Linked DNA regions of Homo sapiens: region 1 is linked to region 2. The links are contacts of gene promoters, found by promoter capture Hi-C in human tissues and cell types (Jung and others, 2019). All regions are on one chromosome and are shown on one strand. Each heading gives the region's core, a stretch centred on a gene start or on the middle of the fragment in contact. The rest is flanking DNA. Distances are from core to core; before and after follow the strand shown.

Region 1 (5,999 bases), core at 943-3,442, 48 kb after region 2:
TAGGTATTTTATTCTCTTTGAAGCAATTGTGAATGGGAGTTCACTCATGATTTGGCTCTCTGTTTGTCTGTTATTGGTGTATAAGAATGCTTGTGATTTTTACACATTGATTTTGTATCCTGAGACTTTAATGTTCCATGAGTAGAAATATAAAATATGTTCTGTGACCATATCACAGAAAAACAGTCTTCCCTCTGATTGTTGCACAAAGAAGGAGAAAAGGAGTGATGCCCAGACCTTATCACTCCCATCATACTCAGTACCTGGAACACTAAGAAAGCTTCGGCTTAATTCCAAACTCTTATCATGCTTGTTTTACATTTTCTATCCCTTCTGCCAATAGTTTTTTGGCATTTGTATGTCAGTCTCTTTACTCAACACAGGACCCTTTTTTAAACTTTCTCTTTTGTCCAACAACTCCTATTGTTTTCCCAGATTAAGTATAACTGGTTTGAAATGTATGATATTCAAGTATCAGCAAATTTTGGCTAGTTCCTGCCTTCACAGCCTTCCTACATTATTCTCTCAAGTAGTCACAGGGCCCGGGATCCTAAAGATTGTAATGACTCCTCACTCTCCTTGGGTTAGGAGCAACTGGAACAGCTGAAGGAACATTGGGATCATCTGCTTGAGAGAACAAATGACAAAGGGAAGAAGCTCAATGAGGCCAGTCGTCAACAGAGGTTCAACACAAGCATCCGGGACTTTGAGTTCTGGCTCTCAGAGGTAATTGCACCCGGAAACAGTAGAGACACAAGAGTTTAATACATACTTGTCAGACAAATGAATTTACCCATGGGCAATTTCCTTGAATTTTCCTGGGAAAAGTTTGGGGACATAGCTGCTGATCTTATTCTCCTTAAAGGCAGTTTCACCTGGCAGCTTTATTGCTTATTTCTCTATTTCCAGGCAGAGACATTGCTGGCCATGAAAGATCAGGCCAGGGACTTGGCTTCAGCAGGAAACCTACTCAAGAAGCATCAGCTATTGGAGAGAGAGATGTTGGCTCGAGAGGTAAGTAGTGTTGGCATCCCTCTCCTCTGGGCAGAATAGAAATATTTCTGGCTCTTCTCCCTCCCATGTTAGGAGACCATTTGAAAACATAGCCTTGCAAAATTGTTCTTAGTGTTCTCAACCAGCAGTCATTTTAATTAGGTAAAATTAACGGGCTGTGAAGACATTAAAACTGTCACTGATAATCAATTATCCCTAAACTATAGACTTTAAGATTCCAGAAAGTGGACCTGGGAAACTATCTTTTTTATCTTTTACTGATGCATACATATAAGCCAATTGTCTTTAAGCTATATATTTGATCTGGTATTTGAAAGAAAGTGGAAGTTTACTTTATAGAATTACAAACAAAAAATCAGATGGGGGCATGTGAAATGAAGATGAACTACACAAACACTCTGGAAATCCTGTCAAGGATTCTGGTTGCATCCTAATAGCAACCAAAAATTTGTGCTGAGAGCAGTGATAAAAATGCTGACAGTTGTTAATTTTATACTAAAGAATTTTATAATTATCATTTTACTTGATAATACAGATACACACAGAAAAGGCAGGAAGTCAAAGGCCTTGGGACTTGGTGATGTTTCCTGTGACATCACTAAGGGGCTGGGTTAGAATAGGAGTAGACACAGAAGAGATAGATGTGTTCAATGGGCAGCTAAGAATGTTGCCCATAGAGTAGTTCTTGTTGAATATTGAATCAATCAATCTGTGGCTGCCAAAGTTGGTACTGTCAAATCAATCAATCTGTGGCTATCAAAGTCAGTATAAGACAGTCTTGTATGGGAACGAATGATTGCCCGCCAAGATTTTCCTTTTTTTTTTTTTTTTTTTTTGGTACCAGCTCAAGCAATTCTCCTGCCTCAGCCTCCCAAGTAGCTGAGATTACAGGCACACGCCAGCATGCCCGGCTAATTTTTGTGTTTTTAGTACAGACAGGGTTTCACCATGTTGGCCACAGTGGTCTTGAACTCCTGACTTCTTGATCCAACCGCCTTGGCCTCTCAAAGTGCTGGGATTACAGGCATGAGCCACCGCACCTTGCTGGTTTTCTTTTTTAGTTGGGGAGAGAAGGCAAATACTGAAAATATCAGAAGGAGAAACAGGACACAGGCTAAATGTACAGTTTGAGTAATGTAGTCATGCTACCTCTATCGCTCCCACATATGGCCCTTCTCCAACCTGAACATATGCTAACATGTATAACACATAATCAAACTCCATGTCTTTAAAAGCAATCCATTTGGCCCAGTCTTTGAGCCAGACCAGCTGTTGTTAAAGTGTGGGATCTGAGTAATGCCTATACTATACTATTCACTGAGTATCCCGAGACTTTCTAGGATGCACTCAAGGACCTGAATACATTGGCTGAAGATTTGCTCTCCAGCGGGACTTTCAACGTTGATCAGATTGTGAAGAAAAAAGATAATGTCAACAAGCGTTTCCTGAATGTCCAAGAATTGGCAGCTGCACACCACGAAAAATTGAAAGAGGCCTATGCCTTGTTCCAGTTCTTCCAGGATCTAGATGATGAGGAATCCTGGATAGAGTATGTGCCACCAGCTCAAAAATGTGTGGATAATACAAGCGAGTAGATAATCCACCAAACTTGTTCCAATTTATGCTGAAATGAAATTTGTACTTGTTTCTTGAAGATAGCACTACTTCATGTTTGCCTCAGCTTAAGGTTAACATTGGTTTTATTTTTCCCAAATTCCCTTACTGGATGCAAGCCAGAGAAAGACAGGTGTGGAGGAAGTGAAGAGCAGTTAACATACATGACAGGAACAAAACTAAGAAGCCATCTGCATTTGCTCTGTAGTTCATTGAATAATATGCAATACTCACAGAGACACCTGGACATTTACACAGCTGATCAGAACCTTGTCATTCTATATCCAGTATATCTTATATGACACTGAATTGGACACTCAATAGAGAATATTACAAAGTATCTACCAAGGTTTCATTACTCATTCCATTTTTGGTTACACAGCTGGTCAGAACCTTGTCATTCTATATCCAGTATATCTTATATGACACTGAATTGGACACTCAATAGAGAATATTACAAAGTATCTACCAAGGTTTCATTACTCATTCCATTTTTGTTGTAAAATATGATTTGGAAAATCTTAGCACATTACACTATTTTGCCTACTTCCCATTTAACCTGCCTCATCACGCTTCTCTTCTACAAAGCTGCTTGATTATTATGAGTAATCAATAAATTAGAGGGAAGCACCATGCACAGGGCAACAAATAACATGTTTTAAAAACCTTTTTGGATAAGACCATAAGATAGAATAATCTTGTCCATGTAGTCTTCGACTGTACTTCGTGGTGATGCTCAAACCTTTTGCACTTGGAAGCATCCCAACTGCCATGACTCCTATGAAATCAGCTCTTTATACCCATTCTAGCTGAATTTATTATTGACATTAATAAATGAAAATAACAAAACCTGTGGAGGTCATATATAATTTTCACATTTTTTTGAAATAGGAAACATTAGTGTGTATTCTTGAGCAAAAAAGAGAAGATATACAAGTGGAGAAGCAAAGGGACTAATGGAAAGGCTGTTACAGTTGTGACTATGGTGGAGATCAGTATGTTACTTTAATTTGTATTGGCTCAGTCAGAAGTTTTGCTGCAAGCCTCTTCCACTAATTATATTTTTGGTCATTGGCACCAGGGTATTACAGAATTTACAACCACCTCCCTCACCACCAGCCACACACATAGTCATAGAAAGCTATTGCTGTAGGATGACATTAGATGTCTAGACTCCAAACTTTCTGTTTTCTTCCTTGATTTTAGGGAGAAGTTGATACGAGTGAGCTCCCAGGACTATGGGAGAGATCTTCAGGGGGTTCAGAACTTGCTGAAGAAGCACAAACGCCTAGAGGGGGAGCTGGTGGCCCATGAGCCTGCCATCCAGGTAGGAATAGAATACCAGATCTGAAAATATAGAAATCATCCTATAGCAACCCCTTGTGTTACAGATAAATAAGAGGGTGCTACAAAACGTGAAAATAGGATGTCAAGGTCAGAGAGAGTTAGTCAAAGAGTTTACAAATATTCTTTTCTCTTCCACATTTAGTCTCCTATAAGTAGAAGAGTTCTGAACAAGAACCCATGCTCTTCCCTGGAAGGAGCACTCTTAACACTCCTGGGGAATGATTGACAATTGGGATGCAGGTTGGGACATCTGGGAAAACTGTACTTGAGCCATCTGGGAAGAAGGCAACTCTGGGTCTGACTTGGCAGCAGGGTCACTCTGTGACCATGAATAGACGAAAAAGCAGATTAGGGAGAGTAGACTAGTGCAAGTACTGATATATTTGCAAATACTTGGGAAAGTTTAGCATAGCAAATCTTCTTGCAGCTTTCATCATTCTCCCTGGACTTTCAGGACCCTCACAAAGTCCCGTGGAGTTTATAAATAATCTGGAGGGTAGGATGGGCTAGATACTTTGCTCAGGGACTATGGCTAAATGGGGAGAGATTGTGGGGTAATGGAACATGTATCGGGGTTGTTCTTCAGAATGTGCTGGATATGGCAGAGAAGCTGAAAGACAAGGCTGCTGTGGGGCAAGAGGAGATCCAGTTGCGGCTGGCTCAGTTTGTTGAACACTGGGAGAAGCTCAAAGAGTTGGCCAAGGCCCGGTGAGTGGGATACAGAAGGCCCAGTTCCCTTCCTGGATTTTGGATATTGGGCAGGTGTTGGGAGGATACTTAAGTGCCTGCTCAGCATTGTCTGCTATCCCCAACTACCTATCTATCTCCTTAAGTCCCTTCTCAAATGACAAGTTTACCACAAAGCTTTCCTCCATATACCCCAGACACGATGATCACTGCCTCTGTTCTAAATCTACCTCTCCTTCTGCATTTACATGCAACTGTCTTTTACTATTGTTTTCCTACATGTGTTATCCTTCATATCAGGTTATTAGCCACACATCTGTTCTGCTTTATCTCCCAGTTTTCATATTATAATCAGCCCTTAGTAATGTAAGGACGAAGAATTATTTTTCCCTATAGCCATATAGCCAATTTGAACCACATACACAATGTATCAGTCCGTTCTCACATTGATATAAAGAACTACCCGAGACTGGGTATTTATGAAGAAAAGAAGTTTAATTCACTCATAGTTTCATAGGCTGTACAGGAAGCATGACTGGGAGGCCTCAGGAAACTTACAATCATGGCAGAATGCAAAGAAAGAAGAACATCTTAGCAAGGCAGGGAGCGGGCGGGGGCGGGGAGAGTGCTAAACACTTTTAAACCATCAGATCTTGCAAGAACTCACTCACTATCATGAAAACAGTAAGGAGAAAATCTGCTCCCATGATCCAATCACCTCCCACCAGGCCCCTCCCCTGATACATAGGGATTACAGTTCAAGATGAGATTTGGGTGGGGAAACGGAGCCAAACCATATCACACATATAGCCAAATATAACGATTTCTGTCTGTAGTTCCATTTTTCCTGGGGGGGGCTAAAAGGAAGATTCTGGCACTTCGTGGTGTCTTCATCATATACGAAAGAAGGCAGTGCTCAGAGTAGAAAGAGACATTGTGTCACTGCTGATATTCTCCAACACTGAAGTCATCATTTCCCTTTTTTTGGTTAGGGTGGGTTTCCTCCCTCCAGCAAAGTTTCTTAAGACAGTAGATGGTGCCACAAAATGAACTTCTAGAGCAGGCGTCTCCTCCATTTCACAGCAGATCTTCACCACTGAGCAGTAGGCACCTATTATACTGTGTTGAGGCCCACTTCAACTGTGGCTGCCTTGTGAGAATAAGCTGGTCTGCCTGAATGAGATTGTGCCACCCCACTGTACTCCCACTGCTTACCAGTTTGTTCTTATCCTCACTGGGGCTTGCCACCTTGTTATAGAGGACTTAAGTTGGAAGAATCCCTAGAATACTTGCAATTCATGCAGAATGCTGAGGAAGAGGAAGCTTGGATCAATGAA
Region 2 (6,256 bases), core at 3,735-6,234:
TTTTATTCATTTTATTTTATTTATTTTACTTTAAGTTATGGGATACATGAGCAGAACATGCAGGTTTGTTACATAGGAATACATGTGCCACGGTGGTTTGCTGCACCTATCAACCCATCATCTAGGTTTTAAGCCCCGCGTGCATTAGGTATTTGTCCTAATGCACTCCCTCCCCTTGCCCCTCACCCCATGACAGGCCCCAGTGTGTGATGTTTCCCTTCCTGTGTCCATGTATTCTCTTTGTTCAACTCCTACTTGTGAGTGAGAACATGCAGTGTTTGGTTTTCTGTTTCTTTTGGTTTGCTAAGGATGATGATTCCCAGCTTCATCCACATCCCTGCAAAGGACATGAACTCATTCTTTTTTATGGCTGTATAGTATTCCATGGTATATATGTGCCACGTTTTCTTTATCCAGTCTATCATTGATGGGCATTTGGGGCATGCAGTTTTATAGATTGTACTTCCTTTTATACTTCCATGGTATTTTCCATCCATTTTTTTTTTTCCTGAGTCCTTTTAAATAAGGGTCTCTATATGATCAGAGCCAATGAATATTCTTGGGAGATTGTAGAAGTAGAAGAAGAAAGTCAGAGGTCCAAGCGTTAAACCACCAAGGTATAAGACTTTTCCATCATGCCCTTTCTTCTATCTCAGCGACATGCCTTGTTATGTGCACTAATAATCATAAACAATGCTTAGAGACTGGAGAATCAATGTTAGTTTCAAGGGACTTTGAGTGCAGGATGGGACTGAATTTTAAGTCACTAAATGCCAGAGCAGCAGCCAGAGTACTGTCAGAGCAAACTTTACATGAATCTCTGCTGCCTACAATGATGGAAAACTCAAGGAACTCAACAGTTTTTATGTGTCAAAACCTTCCCCTGAATGTCTCCTGTGTACTTCCATATTGCAGTTTTGCTCTAAAGACTATGATTCTGGCCAGGTGCGGTGGCTCAATCCTGTAATCCCAGCACTTTGGGAGGCAGAGGCAGGTGGATCACCTGAGGTCAGGAGTTCGAAACCAGCCTGGCCAACATGATGAAACCCTGTCTCTACTAAAAATACAAAATTAGCCGGGTATGGTGGTGCATGCCTGTAATCCCAGCTACTAGGGGGGCTGAGTCAGGAGGATCACTTGCACCTGAGAGGCAGAGATTGCAGTGAAGTGGGATCGTGCCACTGCACTCCAGCCTGGGCAACAGAGTGAGACTCCAACTCAAAAAACAAAACAAAACAAAACAAAACAAAACAAAACAAAAACCAACCAACCAAACAAACAAACACTATGATTCTTATACACTTTTTTTTCTAATGTGGTGAGAAACAACATGAGATCTATCCTCTTAACACATTTTGAAGTGTACAATACTGTATTGTTAACACTTATACAATGTGTTGTACAGCACAGCTCTAGAATTCAATCATCTTTCATGGATAAAACTTCATACCTACTTAATACCTATTTTTCCTTCCCTCAGCCTCTGACAAGCACTATTTACTCTGTTTCTATGAGTTGGACTATTTTATATACTTCCTATAAGTGGTATCATGCAGTATTTGTCCTTCTGTGACTGGCTTATTTCACTTAGCATAATTTCATCAAGGTTCACTCATGTTGTCATATGTGACAGGATTCCATTTGTTATTATGACTGAATTATTTCAATTGTATGTACATGCCACTTTCATCAGTCATAGACATTTCAATTGTTTCCATTTCTTGACTTTTGTTAATAGTGCTGAGATAAACATAAAAGTGCAAAAGTGCAAATACCTCCTTACAATCCTGATTTTAATTCTTTTGGCTGTATACCCAGAAGTGGGACTGCTAGATTGTATGATAGGTCTATTTTTCGTTTTTAGGCAATGCTACACTGTTTTCCACAGTGGCTGCACCATTTTACATTTCTATCAACAGTGTACAATTGTTCCAACTTCTTCATATTTTCAGCAATACTTATTTTTCTATTCCTTTGAGAGTAGCCATCCTAACAGATGTGAGATAATATCTCAGTATCGCTTTGATTTGCATTTTCCTGATAGTGATGTTGAGCACGTTTTCTTATACCTGTTAGCCAATTGTATGTCTTCTTTGGAAAATCATCTGTTCAAGTCCTTTGCTCATTTTCTAATTTTCGTTTTTGTTATAGATTTGAAGAAGCTCCTTGTATATTTTGGATTTTAACCTCTTGTTAGATGTATGCAAATATTTTCTTCCATTCCATAAGAGAACTTTTTTTATTGCTTATTGTTTTCTTTGCTGTGCAGAAGATGTTTAGTTTGATGTAGTCCAATTTGTTTATTTTTGCTTTTGTTGCATTTGTTTCTGGTACCGTATCCAAGAAGTACTTGGCAAGACCAAACAGATCACTTTGCTCTGATGCCTGAGCAGCAGCTGAGGCAAGCTGTTCAGTGCTGATTAAACTACTATGTAAAGTACAAACCCTCCCTGAGGTGATAACCATGGCCAGATACAACAGCCCTCCAAATTATCCCCATCCTTTTAAAACTGTATAAAATACTAAATATATAATTCTTATTATATATGATAAAAGTCATAAAGCTTTTTCCTTGTGTTTTTTTTTTTCCAGGAGTTTTACAGTTTCAGGTTGTAATTTAAGTCTTTAATCCCATTTGAGTTGATTTTTGTACATAACATAAGGGTCCAATTTCATTTTTTTATGTGAATATGCAATTTTTCCAACACATATGTTGAAAAGACACTTTTATTTCCTTATGATCAGTTCTGCTGATTGGGCCATGCTATTTCTTTTTTTTTAAAATAAACATTATAGAATTAGTAAGCATTTTTACTTTCTTTTTATTGTGATGATTTTACTTTAGTTCTAGGACACATATGAAGAACATGCAGGTTTGTTACATAGGTATACACATGCCATGGTGGTTTGCTGCACCCATCAACCCGTCATCTACATTAGGTATTTCTCCTAATGCTATCCCTCCCCTATCCCACCACCCCCGCAACAGGCTTCAGGGTGTGATGTTTCCCTCCCTGTGTCCATGTGTTCTCATTGTTCAACTCCCACTTATGAGTGAAAACATGTGGTGTTTGGTTTTCTGTCCTTGTGATAGTTTGTGGAGAATGATGGTTTTCAGCTTCATCCATATCCCTGCAAAGGACATGAACTCATCCTTTTTTATGGCTGCATAGTATTCCATAGTGTATAGGTACCACATTTTCTTTATCCAGTCTTTCACTGATAGGCATTCAGGTTGGTTCCAAAGGGCTAATATCCAGAATCTACAAGGAACTTAAACAAATTTACAGGAAAAAAACAAATGACCCCATCAAAAAGTGAGCAAAGGATATGAATAGACACTTCTCAAAAGAAGATATTTATGCAGTCAGCAAACATATGAAAAAAAGCTCATCATAACTGGTCATTAGAGAAATGCAAATCAAAACCACAATGAGATACCATCTCATGCCAGTTAGAATGGCGATCATTAAAAAGTCAGGAAACAGCAGATGCTGGAGACAATGTGGAGAAATAGGAATGCTTTTACACAGTTGGTGGGAGTGTAAGTTAGTTCAACCATTGTGGAAGACAGTGTGGCAATTCCTCAAGGATCTAGAACCATAAATACCATTTGACCCAGCAATCCCATTACTGGCTATATACCCAAAGGATTATAAATCATTCTACTATAAAAACACATGCACACATATGTATATTGTGGCACTATTCACAATGGGCCATACTATTTCTTTGGTCACAAGGTTATCACATGTTTGGCATTCTTGCTAAGATGATTCTGGAACAGGGAAACAGAACAAATAATGTTGATGGACTAAGAGAAGATTGACTAAAAAAATAAGGAGCAGAGTGCCATGATAATCATATTGATATGGATTTGACTATTTAAATACTTTCAAACCAAATCACCATAGAATGAAACTTTGTTTTTTAGGGACTGTTTTCTCACATAAAGACGGGTATGATAATACCTGCCTCACAGAATTTTTAAAGATTAGAAATTAATGTAAATTGATCATGTTAATATATAAATATTTCATAGATGTTGATTCTTTTCTCTTAAAGATAAAATAATTTCCTCTCCTTATCCCAACTTCAGACAAATATTCCTCAGTGCATGTGTTATAGTGCAGTCTCTAAAATTATGTTCCTGCCTTTACTACTAAATTTGACTTGAATATAATGAAACTATATGGAAAAGTAAAGTAATCCAGACTTTCAAGAAGAGAATGTAAAGGACTCTCAGTTTTTCTATGTGAGATCCAAGAACAGGGGAAACCACAAATGTAGAATCAAAATCTTCTCTTGTAGATCATGGAAGTTAGATTATTCAAGCTGCATTTACACTGGAATGAAGTTTGGCATGGATAGCCCCACTGGCTTGTAGAAAGGTCTAAGAGCATCCCACTATTTTCTTTTTGCTTGTTTGTTTCATTTTTGTAAGTTAGTCTAAAATAACTATGCCTATGGAAAAAGTCTACCTCTTTTTGTTCTCCATTAAAATTAATACATACAGTAGGATGATTTATACCATATATATCAGAAGTCAGCCATATTTTCAACTTTTTTGTGACATCATTGGTTTGTCAAATAAGGTATCCTAATTTTTGTTTTACAAAATATTAATGAACACATCATATAACTTTTTTTGTTCCTTCCATTTAAATGATTAAGAGTACAACTAAATCAGATTTTTAAAGACCAAATTGTTGAGGTTAGGAATAAAATCTTATTTTGTGAAAGACTCTCTAGAAAAAGCCAGGATAATTCGTTGACTTAAAGACTGTGAAAAATCTGCAGTTGAGTTGGATGAAGTTGTTGAGCTGTATTTCCTATAAATATATGGGGTTTTTTTTCTAATTTTTCATCCAAAAACCTTACTTTCATTTTTTAAGTCTTATTGAGTAACTTTGAAAGCCAGAGCCTCCCAAAACTGCTGAGTCACCCAGTATCTGTAAAACTTAGCAGTTGCCTCAGCTGAGTATGTCTTCTAAAGATAATGTCGATTGTGTATGGCTGATGGGATTCTAGGACCAAGCAAGAGGTTTTTTTTTTTCCCCCACATACTTAACGTTTCTATATTTCTATTTGAATTCGACTGGACAGTTCCATTTGAATTATTTCTCTCTCTCTCTCTCTCTGACACATTTTATCTTGCCAGGTTCTAAACCTTTAGGAAAAATGGAGCAATTTCCAAAGGAAACCGTAAGTACATATTTCTCTTCCATGCAATTTGTCATTAATATTATTAGGAAAGATGTTTCCTTTAAACTTTCTATACTATCTTTCCCAGGAACATTAATAATTATTTGGCTTTTAACAAATAGATAATTTTACTTTTAACTATTTTTTGTGAACAATAACCTTGAGCTTATGTCTGTGCAGCACCAAGACCCAGTAATGACTTAAGTCGGTTCCCAGAGAGAATAAGTAGGGAGATTGAAGCTAAATAACACCTAGTAACAACGTGAGTCTCCATGTAATGATCTAATTCTATAGCCATGCCAGTAATGGCAATTCACAGAGTAGCAATTATACTTAGGAGGAATAATGGGAGATTAAAATTTAAACTCTATATTAAACATTTTGGCTGAGGTAAGCTAGGGAAAATGGTATCCATATCCAGAAGAATGAAGGTGAACCCTATGGTGATTTTGCTGGATATTGTCACAAACAGGTTGGCTCCCACTCTGGGAAAAGGATACTTATATATTGTTTTAGAGTAAAAGTTTTTATATTTCAAAAATAAATTGCAGACATGCTAATAATTTGAAATTTGTGACAATTGGGCAGAAGATAGCTGAACTTTTGATTTATAGTGTTTGTGAGTAAAGCAAGTAAAGAGTAAATATATGAGATTTATTTTTAAGTATGAAGGAAACAAAATTTTCAAACTGTTGCATATATCATTAACTAAATTAATTGCAAGCCATTCTTAATTATTTATTAAATTAAGTTAAAAATAATAAGCACTTCTCAACACCTTTTTAGCCCTTGAAAGCAATAACATTATATTTCTTTTTATCTATCTGAAATTATGTGATTTTGCTGATTTAAACTTGCTCCATGATCAGTCCAATATAATTATATCTATAGAACTTAAATGCTAGCACAAATTTATGTAAAAAGTGAGGAGAGTCTTCTGGATAATCAAGAATTTTTAACCTAAACAGAAGCTATGTCTGGTTAAAAATTACGTAAATATACTACAGCTCTTCTGACAATAGTCCCTAGAAACTTCAGGATATCTGAATAT

Evidence for each region. Contacts are between HindIII fragments. The study calls those that stand out against the background at their distance.
Region 1: a contact is called between a fragment that was not itself captured here and the fragment with the promoter of SPTA1 in region 2, in 1 of the 25 tissues and cell types used here (small bowel).

Annotation. Positions count from the first base shown.
Region 1 is chr1:158,634,597-158,640,595 of GRCh38, reverse strand. It overlaps SPTA1 (spectrin alpha, erythrocytic 1), which reads left to right. Exons shown (of 52, transcript NM_003126.4): 34 at 589-726; 35 at 910-1,014; 36 at 2,355-2,563; 37 at 3,835-3,955; 38 at 4,562-4,683; 39 at 5,921-5,999. Among named protein-coding and RNA genes, the nearest start is that of OR10Z1, 32 kb to the right of the region's middle. The HindIII fragment of the contact is 6,441 bases long and covers 1-5,412 here.
Region 2 is chr1:158,685,443-158,691,698 of GRCh38, reverse strand. SPTA1 (spectrin alpha, erythrocytic 1) reads left to right here and starts at 4,984. Exons shown (of 52, transcript NM_003126.4): 1 at 4,984-5,205. The coding sequence starts at 5,182. RefSeq lists a cis regulatory region at 2,266-2,563 and a silencer at 2,923-3,137. The HindIII fragment of the contact is 10,406 bases long and covers 502-6,256 here.